Linked DNA regions of Homo sapiens: all the other regions are linked to region 1. Evidence: promoter capture Hi-C in human tissues and cell types (Jung and others, 2019). All regions are on one chromosome and are shown on one strand. The core of a region is centred on a gene start or on the middle of the fragment in contact, and the rest is flanking DNA. Distances in the headings are between cores, read along the strand shown.

Evidence for each region. Contacts are between HindIII fragments. The study calls those that stand out against the background at their distance.
Region 2: a fragment that was not itself captured here is called in contact with the fragment with the promoter of UNC80 in region 1 in 1 of the 25 tissues and cell types used here (lymphoblastoid cells).
Region 3: a fragment that was not itself captured here is called in contact with the fragment with the promoter of UNC80 in region 1 in 1 of the 25 tissues and cell types used here (mesendoderm cells).

Annotation. Positions count from the first base shown.
Region 1 is chr2:209,770,097-209,773,474 of GRCh38, forward strand. It overlaps UNC80 (unc-80 subunit of NALCN channel complex), which reads left to right and starts at 1,736. Exons shown (of 65, transcript NM_001371986.1): 1 at 1,736-2,068; 2 at 2,998-3,046. The coding sequence starts at 1,977. RefSeq lists an enhancer at 3,295-3,378. The HindIII fragment of the contact is 3,928 bases long and covers 343-3,378 here.
Region 2 is chr2:208,460,201-208,463,576 of GRCh38, forward strand. The region is part of intron 9 of PTH2R (parathyroid hormone 2 receptor); the gene reads left to right. Among named protein-coding and RNA genes, the nearest start is that of PTH2R, 55 kb to the left of the region's middle. The HindIII fragment of the contact is 5,593 bases long and covers 1-3,376 here.
Region 3 is chr2:208,396,747-208,400,660 of GRCh38, forward strand. It overlaps a transcript of PTH2R not described here. Among named protein-coding and RNA genes, the nearest start is that of PTH2R, 8.1 kb to the right of the region's middle. The HindIII fragment of the contact is 3,315 bases long and covers 881-3,914 here.

The DNA.
Region 1 (3,378 bases), core at 486-2,985:
TGTCATGTCATTCACACTTAAATGGATATGAAGTTTCTACTTCTCTGCTTAAAGGCCTTCTAGGAAAACTTTCTAGCCTGTCATACAAAGTCTCCATCTGATTCCTACACATAATTTCTGCCTTGACCTTTTGTTCATAACTGAATCTGCATTCGTATCTCCCATGATTCTTTTCTCTTTTCATGTCTGTCTTCTCTTAATATTCAGACTTCCTTGTGAGCAAGAGTCCATATAGCTCCATAGAGCTATGAGTATATAAAATACACTCAATAAATATGCCTTGAGTAAACTGTACTTAGAATCTTTCTTTGTTTCAAGATCCATATTTGAGATCATAAGATCCATATTTTTGAGATTCATAATAAAAGATAACTTCAAGAAAGTAAATGAAGAATTTATTTCTATGGCAAAAAATATTGATATATACTATGCTGTTAATTATATATGAAATATTACATCTGTTGAGATTAGGACCTGGAGTCTGATTCTTCATTTCATGGATTACACCAATATCTTTGCTCTAAAAGATGAGGCCAGGCATGGTGGCTCATGCCTGTAATCCCAGAACTTTGAGAAGCCAAGGTGAAAGGATTGCTTGAGCCCAGGAGTTTGAGACTAGCCTGGGAAACATAGTGTGACCCCCATCTCTACAAAAATAAAAAATTAGCTGGGAGTAGTGGTGCACACCTGTAGTCCCAACTGTTGGGGAGACTGAGCTGAGAGGATCTCTTGAGCCTGGGAGGTCAAGGCTGCAGTGAGTCGTGATCACACGTCTGCACTCCAGCCTGGTTGAAGAGCGAGATTCCGTCAAAGAACAAGAAAGAAGAAAGAAGGAGAAGGAGGAGAAGAGGAGGAGGAGGAGAAGGGGGAGGAGGAGGAGGAAGAAGGAGAAGGAGGAGGGGGAGGAGGAGGAATTGCAGGTAGTTACTATTCCGATTGCTTCACCCCACCTCACCCCCCTCCCCGGCCTACTTGTTTTACTCCTAGATAATATATCTAACAGCAATCCAACTATAAAATATTAATATATGTAACATATAAGCATTTGACTATTACAACTGAAGGAAAATGGTAGCTATCACTGGGGGCGAACAGGATCACCCAAGTGCATTTAATGGACTGTAATAAACCACATTTCCTCACAGCATGATTCAAATGTTCTTCCTCAATTTGCAATTAACTGATATCCACAACTGGTTACTTTGGGAACTTTGTATTCCTGCTTTAGGAAAACAAACAAGGTTTATTTCTTGTGGTTATCATATAAAAATAACTTCTCATATCTAAGATCTTTCAAGCTTCCTCTCACTTGCCAACCTTGCCTCACCTTCCTGGTTTACACTTCTAATAATTTTCATGTGTTCCTCCGGCTAACCCCTGGACTCCTGATCTCCTTGCTGGAGGTGAGAATGATGCCAGGGTTAGCGACTGCTCTGCGGTTCCCCAAAGCTCCTCCTACCCAGACGGCGACAGTTTGGATGCTGAGGTTGGAAAGCAGGACAGGGGACACTCCTGAGTGCAGCTCGGAGCGGGGAAAGCCGAATTCCGGGGGCTGAAGAGGCCGCGCAGGGGACGAGCGCCTGCGATGCGGAGCGTGGACTTCTTGGGCCGTACCCCTGCGGCTCAAGCTGCCCCGGATTCGCTTCTCCGGCCGTGCAGCCCGGCGCGGGCCGCTGTCCACAGTGGGAGGTGCTGAAAGCAGGGAGCGGGTGCGGGGGCGGCGAGGCGGACCGCTGCTCCGAGCGCCCCCCTCCTCGCTCCGCGGCTCCTCCAGCCCTCCCCTCCTCCCGCAGCCATGTTCCACGCGCGGGGAGGGGTGGGGGGAGGGGAGAGGCACGGGGGATCAGGGCGGAGAGAGCCGGCTCTGCCTCGGGGAAGGAGGGGATGAGAGTTGGGAGCAGCGGGAGGAGGCGGCGGCGGCGGCTAGCGAGGAGACAGAGCTGGGTCCTGCAGTAGGACTCCCGGGAGCCACCATTATGGTGAAGAGGAAGAGCTCCGAGGGCCAGGAGCAGGACGGCGGCCGCGGCATCCCCCTGCCCATCCAGACCTTCCTGTGGCGGCAAACCAGGTGAGGGGCGCAGAGGGCGCACCGCGGGCCGCCCTGGGCTGGGGGCGCTCCTGGGGCCGCCCGGGTCGCCGCTGCCGCCGCCGCCGCTGAGGCCGCGCCACAGCCTGCAGCTCCCTCTCTGGGGCTGGAAAACAAGCCCTCTGCACCAGCTTAAAAACACGCATTAAAATATGTATATATATGTATATATTTCAGTGAAGTTTGACGACAAGCAGATTGGCAGTTGTCGCATAAATGTATACATTATTTTAGGGGGTGGGAGGGCAGAGAGCCTGGGAAGAGGGGGCGGGGAGCTAGATAATTATGACTGGTTGTGCTCCTGCGTCCAATTCCCCCTCCATCTCCTGCTGTAATTCTAGCCCAGTGACCTGTTGTTTTTCCAGCTCCTGTTTGGCGAATATCTGCTATGCCCACTTGTTAACCGTTTTGCTCAGATTAATCTCCCCAGTTAAATCTCCTGAGGATTTGTGATAAGGGACCTTCCCCCACAACCCCGGAAAGGCCTGACACCTATTCCAATAAACAGAAAAGGTTTTCTTTATTATTGTTATTTTAGAGATTTATCAGATAAGATATTAGATTCTGGAAATTATGACCCATAAGCCGTGTTCAATTTTCAGTTTTTATTATGACTGTACACGTAAGTAATGCACCACTTCTGACCACTGGCGATTTAAAATCTTAGAAGTCTTCAGATTAAGAGTGGATACCGAAAACCATCGAGATCCACTTCTCTTTCATATATGCAATTACACGTGTAAAAGAAAATGTCATCAGCTGTTCAACACCTGCTCATTAAAAAGCTATAAGGAAGCATGAAATTTGAATTTCATAGCATCCTGTCTTATTCATTGAAAAATACGTCACAAGGATGCTTTAATAATAATTTTACTTATGTTTATTAACAAATATCTCTATTAATTTTTCAGTGCATTTTTGAGGCCCAAACTGGGGAAGCAATATGAAGCTTCTTGTGTGGTATGTGATTTTCACCATTTAATAATTATTTCCCTATTCTGTGTGGTGGTTTGAACCCAAAGACAGATTTTAAATCAAACGGACTATATATATTAATTCACTTGGCAAATATTATTGATCACCCACTCTGTGCCAGGCACAATTCTCTGTGCTGGAATAGAACAATGATAAAAACAAATACAGTGTTTACATCCTAGTAGAAAGGGGACAAGCCACAAACAAATAAGTAAATACATAGTAAGCCAGATGGTGGTAAGCACTATGGAGAAAAATTAAGCAAAAAGAAATACTAGGAAGCACTAGGGAGGGGAGTTTTATAAGAATGGATAGAT
Region 2 (3,376 bases), core at 453-2,952, 1.3 Mb before region 1:
ATATCTATGAGCATTTATATGTTTAGGGAGTTGGAAGGCCCTATGTCTCCTTTTCATCCACGATATTATTTTACCACTTTAACATTCTGATCACCTGGTAGTAGGTCAGTGTGACAGGGAGGAAAAGGTGGAATAGCAGGAAAACAGAGAAATTACTGAGAGAGAAGAATGGTAATATGATGTATAAAGTATTCCCTAAATCTTTTATTTGGCATACTTTCCCCAAGGAGTTAAGTACATCTTATACCAAGAAGTATCCCACATAATTCTATCTAATAGGTATTAGATAGAATTGAAAGTAATGGCAAAAAACACAATTACTTTTTCACTAACCTAATAATAGGGAGAAAGACCACAATGCATGTTGCACTGGACCTTATCTGCCTATAATATTTCCAATGCACATTGCATCTGTGTTGCAAAGGAAAACAAAACCACACACTTCTTTGTATCTAATAAAACTTATCAAAATGTTTACTCTTGATCTTCTTTGAAGACTTTAAGGCATCAGCTTCTTTTGGGTTGTTGAAGAAATTACACCACCTTGTGTTTTCCTGGTGTTCATGTATGTAATACATATTACAAGCATTTTAAAAAAATAATTACTATCTTGATAATAAATGTTAAATTAGAAAACAATGTAGCAACTTGATTATTAACTAATTTTGATGTTTTTCTTTGTTTCCCAGTTTCATATTCTTCTTGTTTTCTTTTGGACAATGTGTCACCTACTTTGTCAGAAGGGCAGCTATTAATGTAGTTGAGGTATTGTAACCTCATCCAAAGAATCAGATAAAAGCTTATTTACCTCATAGGAAAAATGCATAAAGAAAATAGGAGAGATCAAAAGGAATCTTCAGTTTAGAAGCCCATTGAAATAAATGTTTAGAGACGGAAATAAAATACAGAACACGTTTAGAGAAGCTATTTTGTATCCTTGCTAAACCATCCTATTAACAAATTGGTCCCAATTCCATATATCCTAGGAGAAGCTCAAAAATCGATTATGGATGAATGCATGGCTTAAATGTATAAACACCTGTAATTTTAATTTTTAATGTAAATCAAATGCTGCTACATTAATTTAGTGAAAAAAATCCTAGATCTGTAACTATATCCCTGAGAGACATCAGTGAACTTAAAGATAAAAATTAACTGCTCAGATTTCCCTTTCACTCATTGGTATTTAATCCTTATTTATACTTTTAAGCCTTTTATTTTCCTCCTTTCTAGTTCCTCCTCTGTGTGTTTGCTTCTCCATATCTTACTATTATCTTTTTAAGGGAACAATCTTTATCTTGTTACTTTTTCTTTGCCTTCAGTGTCTTGTACTGAAACTGACCAATAAGAGTTAATTAATGCTCTTAATTTTACCCACATTTTAATATAATGATTATATAATGATTAAATATGATTTTACATTTGATGAAAAGGAAGGACCTATTGAAATGCAAGAGATCCTTGTAAAATTATCAGGAATTGAAGCAAAGGACAGTGGAGAAAAGGAAATCCTAGGGCATTTTCCATGGAAATGACTGATTTTTATCCAAAGCTTTATAGTTTGTTTACAGATCTAAGTCACTCACATCATCACCATGGATGAAAAATTTATTTTCTGAGATTTGTAACTTGTAATGTGAAACAGTAAAGCTAGGTGATTAAAGGGCTTTTGAAGATTCGCTGTTGGCGAAGGAGAAATAGAAGTGATGGCACACTCAATAAACTTTGAAGAAAATTAATGTAGAAGGCCATTTTCATCTTCTTGAGCTAAAATTATGACAGTTCTAAGCTAAGAATTCTGAAGTACTTTTCCTATATTATGAAGTTGATTTAATCTCAAAAATCACAGCTGAGACTCAAGAATATCTTTCTGTTCACTAAGAGTTACCTTTTTGTTTCATTATTATAATTTAGTGTTATCACAATTCCCTTGAAGGCTCTTAACTTACTCACAATCTACTAGTGTATCTGAAAGTTTTCATAAAATGTCAAGAATTGGATTTGAAATAAATAATTTACTTATTTTAATCAATAATTTAGAGAAGGCTGAGTTAAGAAGGAGAAAAACTAAAAAAGCAAGTGGAAAACTAAAGGAAAGAAAAAATAGAATTATAATGAAAAGCTCCAAGGTATAGTTTTCAATTCAGAAGAGGGGAATATCTCAAGAGACAAGAAGATACACCTCAAGAATATAGAGCTCCTAGGAGAGAGATTTGGCCCTCCTGGGAATAAGAATGTGGAAGGCCTGTGTGGATAATTGTGTGATGTGTAACACCAGGTAGTTAGATTGCCAGTGGCACCGGTTCAGAGGATCAACTTGAAGCACACACAGAAATCCTGGAAATCCAGGAGCTTGGATTATACACAGTGAACCCAAGTTGATATGTTTTAAAACCTGGATTCCAAGGACAGTGATTATTTCACTTAGAATGCCAAAGACCAGAGCTCTGTAAGCATGATTAACATTCAGGAAAAAAACTAATTTAATATCTGCATTGGAAGTAAATAATAAACACAAAATCATGAGCAAAGGTGGTAGTGATTAATGGGGGAAATTTATTCATCACAGGTTGGCAAGTGGTACGAGAGCATTCCAATGGTCTGTGCCAAGGTTGAGCGTGGGTGTGGAATAATGTCAAGAGCTGAGGCTGCAAAGGAGGCCGGGCCAGACCCTGAAGGGGCTTCTAAGCCTCACTAAAGAATTGACACCTAATCTTGCAAGGGATGACAACCAAAGGTTTAGACATTGGAAAGTGAAGGAATCAGGTTTTTCATTTGGAAAGATCTCAGGGCTTCGTTGAAGCTGGCAGTGGGTAACCACTGTGGGTGTCTGCTGGGTGGGGGTTTAAGCCACAGTGATATGAAGTGGAAAGGACATGGGGCTGAGAGAGTTAGGGCTTGGAATTCTGAGCACTGTCCCTTCACACTTGGCATACACATTTTCCTCATTTCCATGACCTGGTCCCTTCTTCCTCCCCCATCTCATGTCATCTCATCTTCTCCCTCCTGCTGCCTCAGCTCCACACAATGGCTTTCTTTAGTTTCCTGAACATGCTACACTGTTCCCACCTCAGGGCCTTTGCCTGTGCTGTTCTGTATGCCTGCCATACTGTTCCCCCTGCTTGTCCATTCTTCCTTCAGGTCCCAGCTTACGGACAACCTCTTCAGACATCCCTTTTCTGACCACTTGACAGTGTCACAGTGGTTACAGCATAGGCTCTGGGCGAGACTGCCTTCGTTAGCATCCCAGGTCTGCCCTGTTGTTGAGCGTGCAGGCTGAAATTTTATGGTACAGGCTGGCCTTGGGCAAGTTATTTAAACTCACAATCCCCTTTTGCCATCTAAAAGATGGGAATAATAGTGTAGATTACGAGAG
Region 3 (3,914 bases), core at 1,288-3,787, 1.4 Mb before region 1:
GTGATTCCTCAGGGATCTAGAACTAGAAATACCATTTGACCCAGCGATCCCATTACAGGGTATATACCCAAAGGATTATAAATCATGCTACTATAATGACACATGCATATGTATGTTTATTGCGGCACTATTCACAACAGCAAAGACTCGGAACCAACCCAAATGTCCATCAATGATAGACTGGATTAAGAAAATGTGGCACATATATACCATGGAATACTATGCAGCCATAAAAAAGGATGAGTTTATGTCCTTTGCCGGGACATGGATGAAGCTGGAAACCATCATTCTCAGCAGACTGACCCAAGGACAGAAAACCAAACCTGCATGTTCTCACTCATAGGTGGGAATTGAACAATGAGAACACTTGGACACAGGGAAGGGAATATCACATGCTGGCGCCTGTTGTGGGGTGGGAGGCTGGGGGAGGGATAGCATTAGGAGAAATACCTAATGTAAATCATGAGTTGATGGGTGCAGCAAACCAACATGGCACATGTATAAATATGTAACAAACCTGCATGTTGTGCACATGTACCCTAGAATTTAAAGTATAATTAAAAAAAAAAAGAGGCCAAGAGCACCTTGGAATGACAGAACAGATTTTAAGCTTACTCCCATACTTACCACTCTGATGAATGCTGTACCTTGGATTCCTGGCCAATGCACCAAAATCATATGGCTTTGATGACTGGAGGAACACCAGGGTCCTTGGTCTTGCACCGGTTTGAATAAAACGACACAGACACATGTGGAGTGGCTTTAGGGAGTGGAGAATTGTAATAGGCAAGAAAGAAGGAAGAGGCTCCCTCTGTACAGAGATAGAGGTGGGGGGGCTCTAAGCTGAAAGAGGGAACCCTGAGTGCGGTGAAAAACAGCCATTTATATGAGGAGGCTGGAGGAGGCGGTGTCTTACTGGCATAGTGCCCAGAGGATTGGTTTGACCAGGTATGTCATTCAAGTAGCCGGTGAAAAAACTGGCCCTCCCACCCTAGCCTTTTAATATGCAAATGAAGGGCACCATGATGTTCTACACATGTGGGGATATGTGGGGTGGCCATGTTGCCAGGCACATGTGGGCACAAGAAGATGGCAGGAATCGCCATGTTTGGTGGACCTAGTTTCTAATGGCCTGCATTTGCATATCAAAGCTTGCCTGCCAGGGTTTTTCTGCTAGGCAAGAAACATTTCTGGAGCTGATTTAAAAGAAAAATAAACTTCCCAAGGACCCCTTTTCTTCTTTATCTGCCTAAAATAATTTTTTAATAACTCCTGTAACAATGATTACTAGAAAGCAATTTATTCATGAAACTTAAAACTAAAATCAAATAATTGAAAATTAATTCATTGGGTCTTTGATATTAATATTCTTTAAGCCACAGAAGTCATAGAAAAGACTGAATTTGTCACCCTAGGCATTTCATTAAAAAAAGTTAGTTTCTTTTGTCTCAGAATGAAGTAGTCTTAAGTTCCAGAGCAGATATATCCTCATTATAATTAGTGAAATGGTGGTTTACTTAATTTTTAACATATAAATAGAGTCACATTTATCACTCCTTGGCATTTTCTTTAAGGATCTGATGCCAGAATGGCCGTGGAAGTCAAACATGTCTCATGCAAGAAATGGAATAAAAAGTTTCTATGAGTTTATGGTAATGGTTGGTTGGAAGTGTTACTTTTTGTAGCAGCTACTGTCAATGTTCCAATCATTTCTGATGATCTTGGTGATTTGGTGGATAATTAGACATGTGTCCTCAGACCAAGAAACTGCAAAGGCATAGAAGAAAGACAATCACGCTCTTGTGTTCAAAATGAAAAGCTTCTTTAGGGGCATTGTATTCTACTTAGATAATCATTTTAGAGCTTTATATGAGGTGTCTGGATGTGGTTTGGGGAATGTAATTAGATCAATTCCCTTAAAACTGTTTAAAGTGATTTCTCTCTTTCCATAAGTTATTGTATTACTAATTAATTTATTTACTATCTCGATTTTGTGCTGTTTGAATCTTAAGGCAGAAAAGAGTTGTCTGTATCTCTTGTGATAACACATATACTGGAATTATAAAATTAGACTCTCTTGAATTCTAGCTCTTAACCAGTCCCAAACTTGACTCAGAATTCAAAGGACCAGGCAAACACCAGGCACAAATAAAACAGTCTTTTCTTGGAGAAGTCTGAGACCATTTGGCACAGATTTCCAAAATAACCCTATTCTCATGCAGTAGGATAAGTTTTAGATTTAATAGACAAGCTTCTTTATAAGCAATATGTGCAGAGACATCGTTCAAACAAAGGGAATAATTCCAGTTATGCAATGTCTCTTCTTCATACCTTATTGTTTACATAATCATCTCTTAGTTTCCCCTATCACCCAGAAACCTGTGAATTCTAAGTTTATTTATACACACAATCAAGATGTGTGCTCCTAAAAACATTTTATACTCTCCATTATCTTTCCATTCCTAGTAAATACTTAGTGAGTTTACTGGAAAATTTGGTTATTCACATGTGTTCAGGGAAGGGTTAACTCAGTAGGTCTGGGTTGCTCAAACCCTGCACATTCCCAAGAAAGGCCAGTCCTCAGGACTGGCCCTTGGCTGGTTTCTGGGAGATGAGCTCTAAGTCCTCGGCATAATCTGCTGGATAAGAGTGGTTTGTATATCTGCAGCCTTGGGCTATGCTGTACCAGTTTGACCAGGTAGTTTATGCTAACAATGTCATCTGTGAATGCCTATTTTTGCTTGTGGCAGGGTTATGGTGGGGCTGGGTTCCAAGTAGGTGATTAAAAACCCTAGACACCAGGACTCAGATAAGCTTCCCTAGTTGGCAACACTTTGCACAAGGTGTCATACATCATTGCTGGGAGAATTAAGTGCATCTGTGTGACTCCACTGGGAGAAGACCCCTGGAAGCTTGTTCCTGGTTCTGCCTGAACATCATCTTATGTGACTTTTCCCTATGTTGAATTTAATCTGTATCCTTTCACTCTGAGGAATCATAACCATGAGACAACATCTTCTGAGTCCTATGAGTCCTTCTAGCAAATCATTAAGCATGATGGTGGTGGTTTTGAGGACTCCCAACATAGCATGTTTACCAAGAGATTTATTTGAGGTTTTTCTTTCCTTTCTGATAGAGAAAAGTTCATACCTGCTGTTCACCTTTTCCTTCCCAGCATGTAGTGTGGAGCTATGAACCTCTATGCTGATGTCCTTTCAGCCCTTTTTACTGATACTCACCCTGTCTCTGGGGCCTTACCCCTTCATTAATAACCCTATGGAAAGTAAAACTGTATTTCAATAGGTCTCCAGTTATAGCACCTGGAAAATTAAACTCTTCTTAAAACCCAAGTTAGTTCTTTCAGCGATTTGACCTATTTTGTTTTTCAGAAAACACTTCTGTTTATACCTTACTAAAATATTATATTGTAGTGGTTATATGTCCAGAGGCTAGTAGAGTACTTGTTTATTGAAAACAAAATAAAATATGAATTCTAAATAGTAATGTCTAAATTCTTCAAAATGTAAGTGGTAGAATTGACTTTGATAGACCTTTTCTCCTGTAATATATTGTTATAATATCCTGAGACATACTCAGCATAAATATCTTCCCAGTCATTAAGTTAGTCACCAGCACCTCTCTTTGGGGACTGCCTAAAATGAAAGGATATGTCCTTCGGTGGAGTATTCTTATATTTCCAGGGGTAGCAAGAGCTATTTGAATTTCTCATTAGAATGTCTTTTTCAGATGTCTAGTTTAACCTGGTATCCTAGTAAAAATAGCAACATCCGGATCACTAAGGGATGGTTCAGAGTAGATTATATTAGTGGTTATTTTGGTATTAGGTTTGTGGTACTATCTATAACCTTTTATAAAGATCTCATTGATTTATTTTAATGTGGGTAAAATCATTT